Linked DNA regions of Homo sapiens: region 1 is linked to region 2. Evidence: promoter capture Hi-C in 16 types of primary human blood cells and fetal thymus (Javierre and others, 2016). All regions are on one chromosome and are shown on one strand. The core of a region is centred on a gene start or on the middle of the fragment in contact, and the rest is flanking DNA. Distances in the headings are between cores, read along the strand shown.

The links. Contacts are between HindIII fragments. The CHiCAGO score rates a contact against its expected background, and 5 or more counts as called.
Region 1: a contact is called between a fragment that was not itself captured here and the fragment with the promoter of RAB27A in region 2, in 1 of 17 cell types (total CD8 T cells). The highest score is 5.3, in total CD8 T cells.

What each region holds. Positions count from the first base shown.
Region 1 is chr15:55,251,495-55,256,110 of GRCh38, reverse strand. The region is part of intron 2 of RAB27A (RAB27A, member RAS oncogene family); the gene reads left to right. Among named protein-coding and RNA genes, the nearest start is that of RAB27A, 36 kb to the left of the region's middle. The HindIII fragment of the contact is 5,603 bases long and covers 1-4,616 here.
Region 2 is chr15:55,287,495-55,292,221 of GRCh38, reverse strand. RAB27A (RAB27A, member RAS oncogene family) reads left to right here and starts at 2,409. Exons shown (of 7, transcript NM_183235.3): 1 at 2,409-2,506. RefSeq lists an enhancer at 1,942-2,091 and a silencer at 2,192-2,721. The HindIII fragment of the contact is 29,121 bases long and covers 1-4,727 here.

The sequences.
Region 1 (4,616 bases), core at 784-3,283, 36 kb after region 2:
CCCAGCCTCTACTTGACTTGTAAAACAACGATCTTACATGTACCCAGTAGTTTACAGTTTATAAAATGCATTTCACATAATGTACCCTTTAATCCTTCCAATAATCTTGCTAGATAAATATTCCCATATTGAGGAAACAGTGTGGGGAAGCTGTCTGGCTCACCACAGGACACATAGCTAGGAAGGAAGTAGCAGAGTTCAGGTCTTTTGACTTGAAGCCCCTTTCACTTTTGATTTCTTGTGCTGGCTGGTGCACATGGTGTACCAGACGTTTTTCTCCCTGATAATATTGTCTTATCCGTCCTTTTTCGTAAATGAGTACATCATTCCACCTCACCCTAATTACCAACTTCTTGAAGGGAGCAGTTGGATCCTGTGTTTCTTTCATGCCATTCGTAGTTGCTAGCACCGTACTGGAAAGGTAGTAATTGCTTACCAAATACTGTTGAATTGGATGTAAATATGGTTTAATTATCAAAAAAGCACAGCTATCAGTGGAGTCCCCAAACACTTTTTGAGTCACTTCTAAATAAAATTGGCAGGGAATGGAGGGAACCAGCGGAAGGAAAAGGCTATTAGAGAAAGCAGATGATAGACACAATTAGCATTTGAGTGACAGCTGGCCAGTTGTCTGTCCAGTGGTGAGGGGTAGTGGAGAAGCAATACACAAAATGAGACTCTTCAGGAAATATGCAACTGTACCAAAGAGATGAAACACACCCATGAGGTGGGAATGGAGTACTTAAAAGTGGCAGATGACCTGTACAAGTTAGCCAAAGCATTCATTCATATTAATAAACATTGATTAAAGGAATACCCCGAGGAGGATGGATTTATGAGAACAGGCTTCCAGGGTGAGAGTGGAAGGGATAGAGTTGCAGTTTGGTTTCAGTTTGTGATCATTCTGTTAATTACTGGAACCAGGAGAAAAGAGACATAAGTAGGTGAGGATGTTGCCGTTGAAACAACTTTCTCTTCCCTTTCTTATACTATGTGCAGTCAATAGGACCTCAGCCCTGAGCCCTGGCAGTCAGAAGTGAAGGAAAGACAAATAATTGCTCATGTCATCTGTGCATAGAGGTGTGTAGTGATGAGCAACTTGCTGGATTTTCTGGTACTGCCTCCTTTAACGTATTTTTGTGCATTTTCTTCATAAATCAAAGAGATGCTTTAAAAGTTCTAATACTTGGACAACTAAATTGTGTTTCCAACTCTGCCTTTTCCCAAAAGGGTCACAAAAATCCATAGACATAAGCCGCAGATTTTGGTTTGGAAAGTCATGCTGCATTTTATCTTTATGTTTGGGCTGCTCCCGAGTTCATAAATATTTTGTGCCTGAAAGAAATGTAAAACCCCTTCCACTGTAATATATGTGAAAAATGTCCAATTTCTTAATAGTAGAAGCCAAACATTTTCTTTTGTGAGTTTCTGTCTCCTACAGAGAACATAAGATGGAGGGCTTTTAGATTAGAAGTAATAGAATTTTAATATCTGTTCCTTCCTGTCTCAGAATTTTTCACAGTTTATAAGTATATTATAAGAGCTAAAGGAATGTATATCTAAAATGCTTACAAGCATCAGAAATTAATGGAAATTATTTCAAATTAATTAAAAATTATAATTTTTATACAAAATAATTTTATCATGTTGTATGCTGTAGATTCTAAAAGAAAAATAAAAAACTTTTATTTCTTAGACATTCATATGTGGTTTTAAAGTGATATATCTAGGAAAATAGATTAGTACCATTGAGGCCTATTGTTAGATGTGTTGGTTTATTTTTAATGCTTGATGGCTATATAGCAATTATATTTTTTATGTGATAAGCAAGTATGTATAGGAAAGTAATAACTTAAAAGGAATGTCATTATAATATTTCTTTCTTTAAAAAATAGGAAGGTATTTCTCGAGGTCAAAACTCAACTTACAAACCTTGCAGCCAAATTTGTTGGTATATAAAGTCTAACTTTATACTTTAAAATGTGGACATACTAAAATGTGATTGTAGAATTATGAGATTGATTTTCATGTGTGACTTCTGAAACCTTTTTTACTACTTTACAGTTATCTCTCATGCAGAATCTCATTTCAACCTCATTTAAAAAATTAAGTGTACTGTTACTTGTTTTTGTGATTTCCCCTGAACACTCAAACATAGTTTCTGAAGACTTACTTATTACTTATCAATTATCCATGTTATAAACACGTGGATACTTACATCTTCATGGTTTATGCTGCTCTTGTCTACAATTTCCTTTATCCTCTTGCGTTGTTCTCTTGCTGATTCATAGTCTCTTTGCTAACACAAAGTCTTTATTTCTGTGTTAGTAAATCTGTATTGAGGTTTATTCCCCGACTCTTTTTTTTTTTTAAACAAGGCTCTTGTTCTTTCTGAGTCACCCTCTTGCCTGCTTATTTTAGCCCTTATGTTCTTAACCTCTAGGCTTCAAATATCTTTCTCAGAGGCATGTTAAGAAAATAGGAGCTTTGTTTCCATAGATGGCCTTATCCTGGGCTTAGCTGAGGACAGAGACAAGGTATGGCCTTGGGGGACTAAGTTCTAACCTGGATGCTTGGCTTTCCATCTGCCTAGGTAGGAAAACGAAACTTAGTGAAGGAACCTAGTTGGAATACTTAGGGAGCCTTTCTTTTTTTTTTTCCTTTGAGACGGAGTCTCGCTCTGTCACCCAGGCTGGAGTGCGGTGGCACGATCTTGGCTCACTGCAACCTCTGCCTCCCTGGTTCAAGCGATTCTCCTGCCTTAGCCTCTGGGGTAGCTGGAATTATAGGCACCCGCCACCGTGCCCGGCTAATTTTTGTATTTTTAGTAGAGATGGGTTTCACCATGTTGGCCAGGCTGGTCTCGAATACCTGACCTCAGGTGATCTGTCAGCCTTGGCTTTCCAAAGTGCTGGGATTATAGGCATGAGCCACCACGCCTGGCCATTAGGGAGCCTTTCTTTCTTTTTTTTTTTTTCAGAGACAGAGTCTTGCTCTGTCACCCAGGCTGGAGTGCAGTGGCACGATCTTGGCTCACTGCAACCTCCGCCTCCTGGGTTCAAGTGATTCTACTGCCTCAGCCTCCTGAGTAGCTGGGATTACAGGCACATGCCACCATGCCCAACTAATTTTTGTAATTTTAGTAGGGCTGGGGTTTCACCATGTTGGCCAGCTGGTCTCGATCTCTTGACCTCGTGATCCACCCGCCTTGGCCTCCCAAAGTGCTGGGATTACAGGTGTGAGCCACCGCGCCCGGCCAGGGAGCCTTTCAAACTGGTTGGCAGAGTAGAGGAAAGCAAGTTGATTGAATAAATTGCTGTAACTTAGAAGGTTAGAACATTTCTCTGGCTTTTGATAAAGCAACAACTACTATGGGTCTTTTTTTTTGTATATAGATAGATAGATACGTATATCTGTATCTATCTGTCTGTCTGTCTGTCTATCAATCAATAGCTTTTGGGGTTTTTGGCTGCATGGATGAATTATTATTTTATTCTGTACGTTTTTTTGAGATGGAATCTCACTCTGTCGCCCAGGCTGGAGTACAGTAGTGCGATCTTGGCTCACTGCAGCTTCCGCCTCCCAGGTTCAAGCCATTCTCGTGCCTCAGCCTTCAGAGTAGCTAGGATTACAGGCACGTGTCCCCACGCCTAGCTAATTTTTGTATTTTTTAGTAGAGATGGGGTTTCCCCATGTTGGCCAGGCTGTTGAACTCCTGGCCTCAAGTGATCCACCTGCCTTGGCCTGCCAAAGTGCTGGGATTACAAGTGTGAGCCACTGTATCCAGCCACTTGGATGAATAATATAGTGGTAAATTCCGAGATTTTAGTGCACCCATCACCTGAATAGTGTACATTGTACCCAATATGTAGTTTTTATATCCCTCACCACCCTCCCCCGGTCTTTTCTAGCTACTGTTGCTGTGGGCTCTAATGAACTGTGTTGTCTGCCCAGATGTCCTCTTGAATTCTTGGAATGCTGACCTCCAAGACTCCCAGATCCATAAACTACTCTTCCCCTTTGTTGACCTGCTCCTTAGTCTCTTGGTGTTTGACCTTGGTATGACTTTGAACACCTGTCTGAAAACTCCCTTTGTACTTAATCCCTGTGGGTTGGAGTTGATTTTGTGCTGCCTTGACATGAAGCCAGGTAGGGAGTGCTAGGGGTTTCTCTGTCCCCTCTACCTCATGCCGCTTTCTCCTTCCCTGGAACTTTGTAATGGTTTCAAGCAAGGGTACTTTCATGTAAAACACTCCTCATGACACAGACATTAGCTGAGCCTAATACTAGAAATTTCTTCTGAATTCATAGAAAGAAAATGAAGTTAGTAGAGAAAATCTGAACTTTTACTTTGATCAGTATTTTAAAAAATTTTTGTACCTCTTTATTCCCTTCTGTGCTATAATTTAGTATAAAGTGGCTTCTGATACAGCACAAAATAATATATTCTCAGTTATCTTAAAGTTGCTATACCAACATTTCATTGTGTTCTTCAAACCACATCTTGACTTTTGAGGGTTCATCCATATATAGATTTTTGAGCCCATCAGGACTAATCTGGTCATATTTTCTGATGGCCTCAAAGTGTCCATTTAGATACAAGAAAGGATCACCAA
Region 2 (4,727 bases), core at 1,160-3,659:
TAGCATATTGGCTGACTCATAGTAAATGATCAAGAAATGTTAGTTATGATCATGATCATCATTGCAGGGTTATTCACCGCACAGCCTCTGTTATTTCTCCATTTTCTTTTCTGATTGCTTTCAGTCTTTCAGCTTTTCTGAACCTCTTCCTGTTGCTCCAGTGTTGAATGCTATCTTTTGCTTCCAGGCCTTCCCTCTGCTCCATTTTCCTGGAATTCTCTTCTCCCTTGCCCCTTGCCCTCATTCATTCTAAGTTTATCCTTAACTTTCTCTTGATTTGGTGTCATTTATCTGTGCTCCAATAACACTCTTTAACTTCCTTTATTGAGGCTCTTATCTCACTACTGGAGTTGCCTACTTATTCGATGGTCTCTCAAGTAAGTCCTGACGTCAGGGACCAGTTTACCTTGTTTACTAATAGGGTGCCTGACTTGATGAATGAGTGAATGAATGGGTGATGAATGGGCCATAGCACCATCCTAGGTTTTCTGATCTCCTGTCTGGTATACTCCTGGTGAGAGCCTTGCCTGGCCACAGGAGTGGGGAAAGCTGAAGGCAGGCTTTCCCTGTGCCATATCAGCCATTAGCAATTACTACATTATTGGTTTCCCAGATTTTAGCTGATCAGTGATTCCCAGGACTATTCCTCTGGACATGAACATGAGGCTACCTTTTCCCTTTTTTTTTTTTTTTTTTTTTTTTTTTTTTTTTGAAACAGAGTCTCGCTCGGTCGCCCAGGCTGGAGTGCAGTGGCGCCATCTCGGCTCATTGCAACCTCCACCTCTCGGGTTCAAGCGATTCTCCTGCCCTCAGCCTCCTAAGTAGCTGAGACTACAGGCGCGTGCCACGACGCCCTGCTAATTTTTTGTATTTTTAGTAGAGACGGGGTTTCACCGTGTTAGCCAGGATGGTCTCGATCTCCTGACTTCGTGATCTGCCGGCCTCGGGCTCCCAAAGTGCTGGGATTACAGGCGTGAGCCACCTAACCCGGCCTTTTTCTCTCTTAACCTCACCAACAGTCTGATGGCCCTTCTCTCACACGGGAAGAGCTCTTGAAGTTATCAACCTGTTAGGACATTTGTTATCTCTAAACCCGAGTTTACTGTGTTATGTTTGCCTGGAAATGTTATATCAAATGTATGAAATTGCCAACTGTTTGTAATTTCATATGGTTCATCCTATATGTGATTTTGTAAATTGGACCCACCTGAGAAGCTAACTGCTGTAATGCCAACTGTGAGTAGCTACAGACTGGAAAGGTGATGGAGTTGACCGGGTGGGCCTGCGACAGCTGGAATTTGCGGTGGAGGTAGACACAAGTCAGCGAGACGGCTTAGAAGGCAGAAGGGAAGCTGAACTAAGGCTTCTCAACATTTTACTCTGCTTAGAAGTGGAAACATTTGGTTCAAAGGGCCTTTGCCTTAGACTCCATAGGGACAGGCCCAAGGGCTGCTGTTCACACCTCCTGGCCACTGAGAGGGATGAACTTGGCTGCCTCTGAGTGGGAACCACGAGGTCTGACCCCCTACGCAGTCCCAGGTTCACTACCCCGCAGGCCGGAGCGACACCGTTGGCGCTGGGAGAAGAGAGCCGCTGGGTGGCAGCAAAGGCGCGCAGGTTTCTTCCGACAGAGGCGGTTCCTTAACATACTGTAGTTTTCTTCTTTTTAAACTCATTGCTCTAACACTCTTAGAAATTTACAGTGGTTTTATATTCTTGAATTACACAGTGTGAGCAGAGACTCCGTTTGCCATTTCCTCCCGGAATTACATTGATTTTTTTCCTGCGAAATTTTTTACTTATTTTTCTCCCATGTTATTTCCAGGAATCCTGGGCATTCCCTTGCCCCGGAAACGCCGTGTCCAGGCCGACCTAAGCCAGGAGCCGCAGGGGCGGGAAGCCGGGGGCAGGGCCGGGCCTGGGACGCCGCCTCAGGAGCCGCGCGGACTCGGGAACCTCGGGCGGGGCCGGCGTGAGTACGCCCGGCACCTCCGGCTGCTACGGTGGCGACCGCGAACTGATGCCGTGGAAAACACCCTTAGAACATGGCTTTTTGGGGAGGTGAATAGGGGAGAGTCCCCAAACGACACCTCGCCGCGCACCGGTCCTTGGTGCAGTTTGTAAATGTCCCTCCTGTGTCCCAAAACGAAAACACTCCTATATTTTGTAGCGCCTTCCAGAATGGGGCAGCGGAAACTAGTGTTGGGACAAAGGAGGCGAGCGGGGCCTTTTCGGGGCTCACAGAGGACCCCTCGGAGGCGCGGCCGCCGGGGAGAGCGCGACAGCACCCCGCCCCCCGCCAGCCGGGCGGGGGCCGCTCCCGAGGTGACAGGAGAAGGCGGGAGGTGGAGGAGAGAAGGTCCCGCCCCACCTCGCTCTCCTTTACGGGAAGTGATGTGGGGCCAGGCGGAAAATACCCGCCAACGACCCAAAAAAGGCCGGCGGCGGGTGGACGCGGCGCGCGAGGACCCGAGCCAGGCGGGGACAGGACGGCGGGGCGAGCCAGGTGAGGGGGCCTGAGGAGCGGGAGGCGCGCGGCGGGTCCGGTCCCTCCGGGAGGGCCGAGCGAGGCGTCCCCCTGGGGCCGTCCTAGGGCTGGGGTCCGAGTGCGCCGCCCTTCCTCCCCGCCTCCAGGCGCCCGAGCCCGCCTGAAGAGTGGCTTCTCTCCCAGGCCCTCAGCGCAGACCCCAGTGATGACAACTGCCTGGTGCTGGCCAGGTGCGGTCCCAGGTCCGGCCAGGGTCTCAGATCGCCTCCGGGTTGCATCCAGGTGGGAGGATGCCCATCAGGGGTAGGAAACTTTCCAGGAGGGAAAGGAGGAAAGTCCCCGACCTCCCGCACGCCCCCCGGTTCATTCCTCCCTCTTTTGCTTTCAGTTTAACTGTTTAACCTGGTTGCCCTCCGGTTGGTGAGGGTCTGGACTGCAGACTAGCTGCGAGGGAGGGGCTCTCTCTTCTCCTGTCAGTTAGACTGAAAACTACCTGGCAGCCAGGCCCTCCGGTCGGGACTGGTGGTGGTGCAGATATGATGACAGGCTTTGGTAACTATTGCCAAAGCCTGTCTCTGTCCCAATAGATCACCAGTTCAGCAAAGTCAGGCCTGAAGCGAAGGGAGTCTTGTGAGCCCTGGACTGAGGAGCCTTCCCAGCCTTTCCGCTCCTGCTGGCCACCTGGGCCCACATGGCCTCAGGGTCTTCTGCCACAGGGTCCTTACCCCTACAGCTTAACAGCTGTTCTTTCCTTCTGGATGGATTCTCACATTTTATGGTTGGTTGATCAGTCAGATGTTGGAATTGGGGGTAGAGGGATTATAGAGTTGTGTGTGCTATTTAAGTTTTCTGTAATCATTGCTAATTAAATTTGTTGATTCTCCACTCACTGTTCTTGTTCTTTTTTTTTTTTCGGCCTTAAAAACTTGCTTTAGAGGGAAAATACAATCTGGAAAACAGTTTCTGCAGATGGTTAGAAGTGAAGAAAGGTTAATATAATGCTGAAGGAACTTGACTGAGGATCATTATTTTCTGTATTTTATGTTGGTTTATGTTGTTTTATGTTTTCATTCCTACTTTTTTCTTCCTTCCTTTCTACCATTCTCTCTTCCTCCCTCCCTCCCTTTTTTCTTCCTTCCTTAATTTCTGTGACGTGCCTTGATTTTTAATTTCGTTGAAGTATATTTAATCTATTTTTCCTTTTTTTTCTTTTGAGACAGAGTCTCACTCTGTCGCCCAGGTAGGAATGCGGTGGCATGATCTTGGCTCACAGCAACCTCCGCTTCCTGGGTTGAAGTGATTCTTTTGCTTCAGACTCCAGAGTAGCTGGAATTACAGGTGTGTGCTACCATGCTTGGCTAATTTTTGTATTTTTAGTAGAGGCGGGGTTTTGCTATGTTGGCCAGGCTGGTCTTGAACTCCTGACCTCAAGTGATCAACCTGCGTCAGCCTCCCAAAGTGCTGGGATTATAGGCTTGAGCCACTGCACCGAGCCTATTTTTCCTTTTGTTGTTTGTGCTTTTGATGTCAAAGTTAAGAAAACATTGTCAAATTCAAGATCATGAAGATTTATACTTATGTTTTCTTCTAAAAGTTTTATAGTTTTTAGCTCTTACATTTCATTCTTTGACCCATTTTAAGTTAATTTTTAAATATGGTGTGAGGCAGGGGGTCTGACTTCAACTTTTTGCATGTGGATATCCAGTTCTTTCAGCACCATTTGTTTAAAAGACTGTTCCTCTTTGAATAGTTTTGGCACCTCTGTTGAGATAAATTGACCATGAATGTAAAGGTTTATTTCTGGACTGTCAGTTCTATTCCATTGATCTGTATGTCTGTCCTCAGGCTAGTATCATACTACCTTGATTATTGTAGCTACATAGTGTTTTGAAATCAGGATATGTGAGTCCTCCAACCTTGTTCTTTTTCAAGATTGTTTTGACTATCCAGTCCCTTGAATTTCCATATGAATTTTTTTTTTTTTTCGAGATGGAGTTTTGCTCTTATTTACCAGGCTGGAGTGCAATGGCACGATCTCAGCTCACTGCAACCTCCGCCTCCCTGGTTCAAGTGATTCTCCTGCCTCATCCTCCTGAGTAGCTGGGATTACGGGCATGTGCCACCATGCCTGGCTAATTTTATATTTTTAGTAGAGACAGGGTTTCTCCATGTTGGTCAGGCTGGTCTCGGACTCCCGATCTCAGGTGATCTGTCTGCCTCAGCCTCCCAAAGTGCTGTG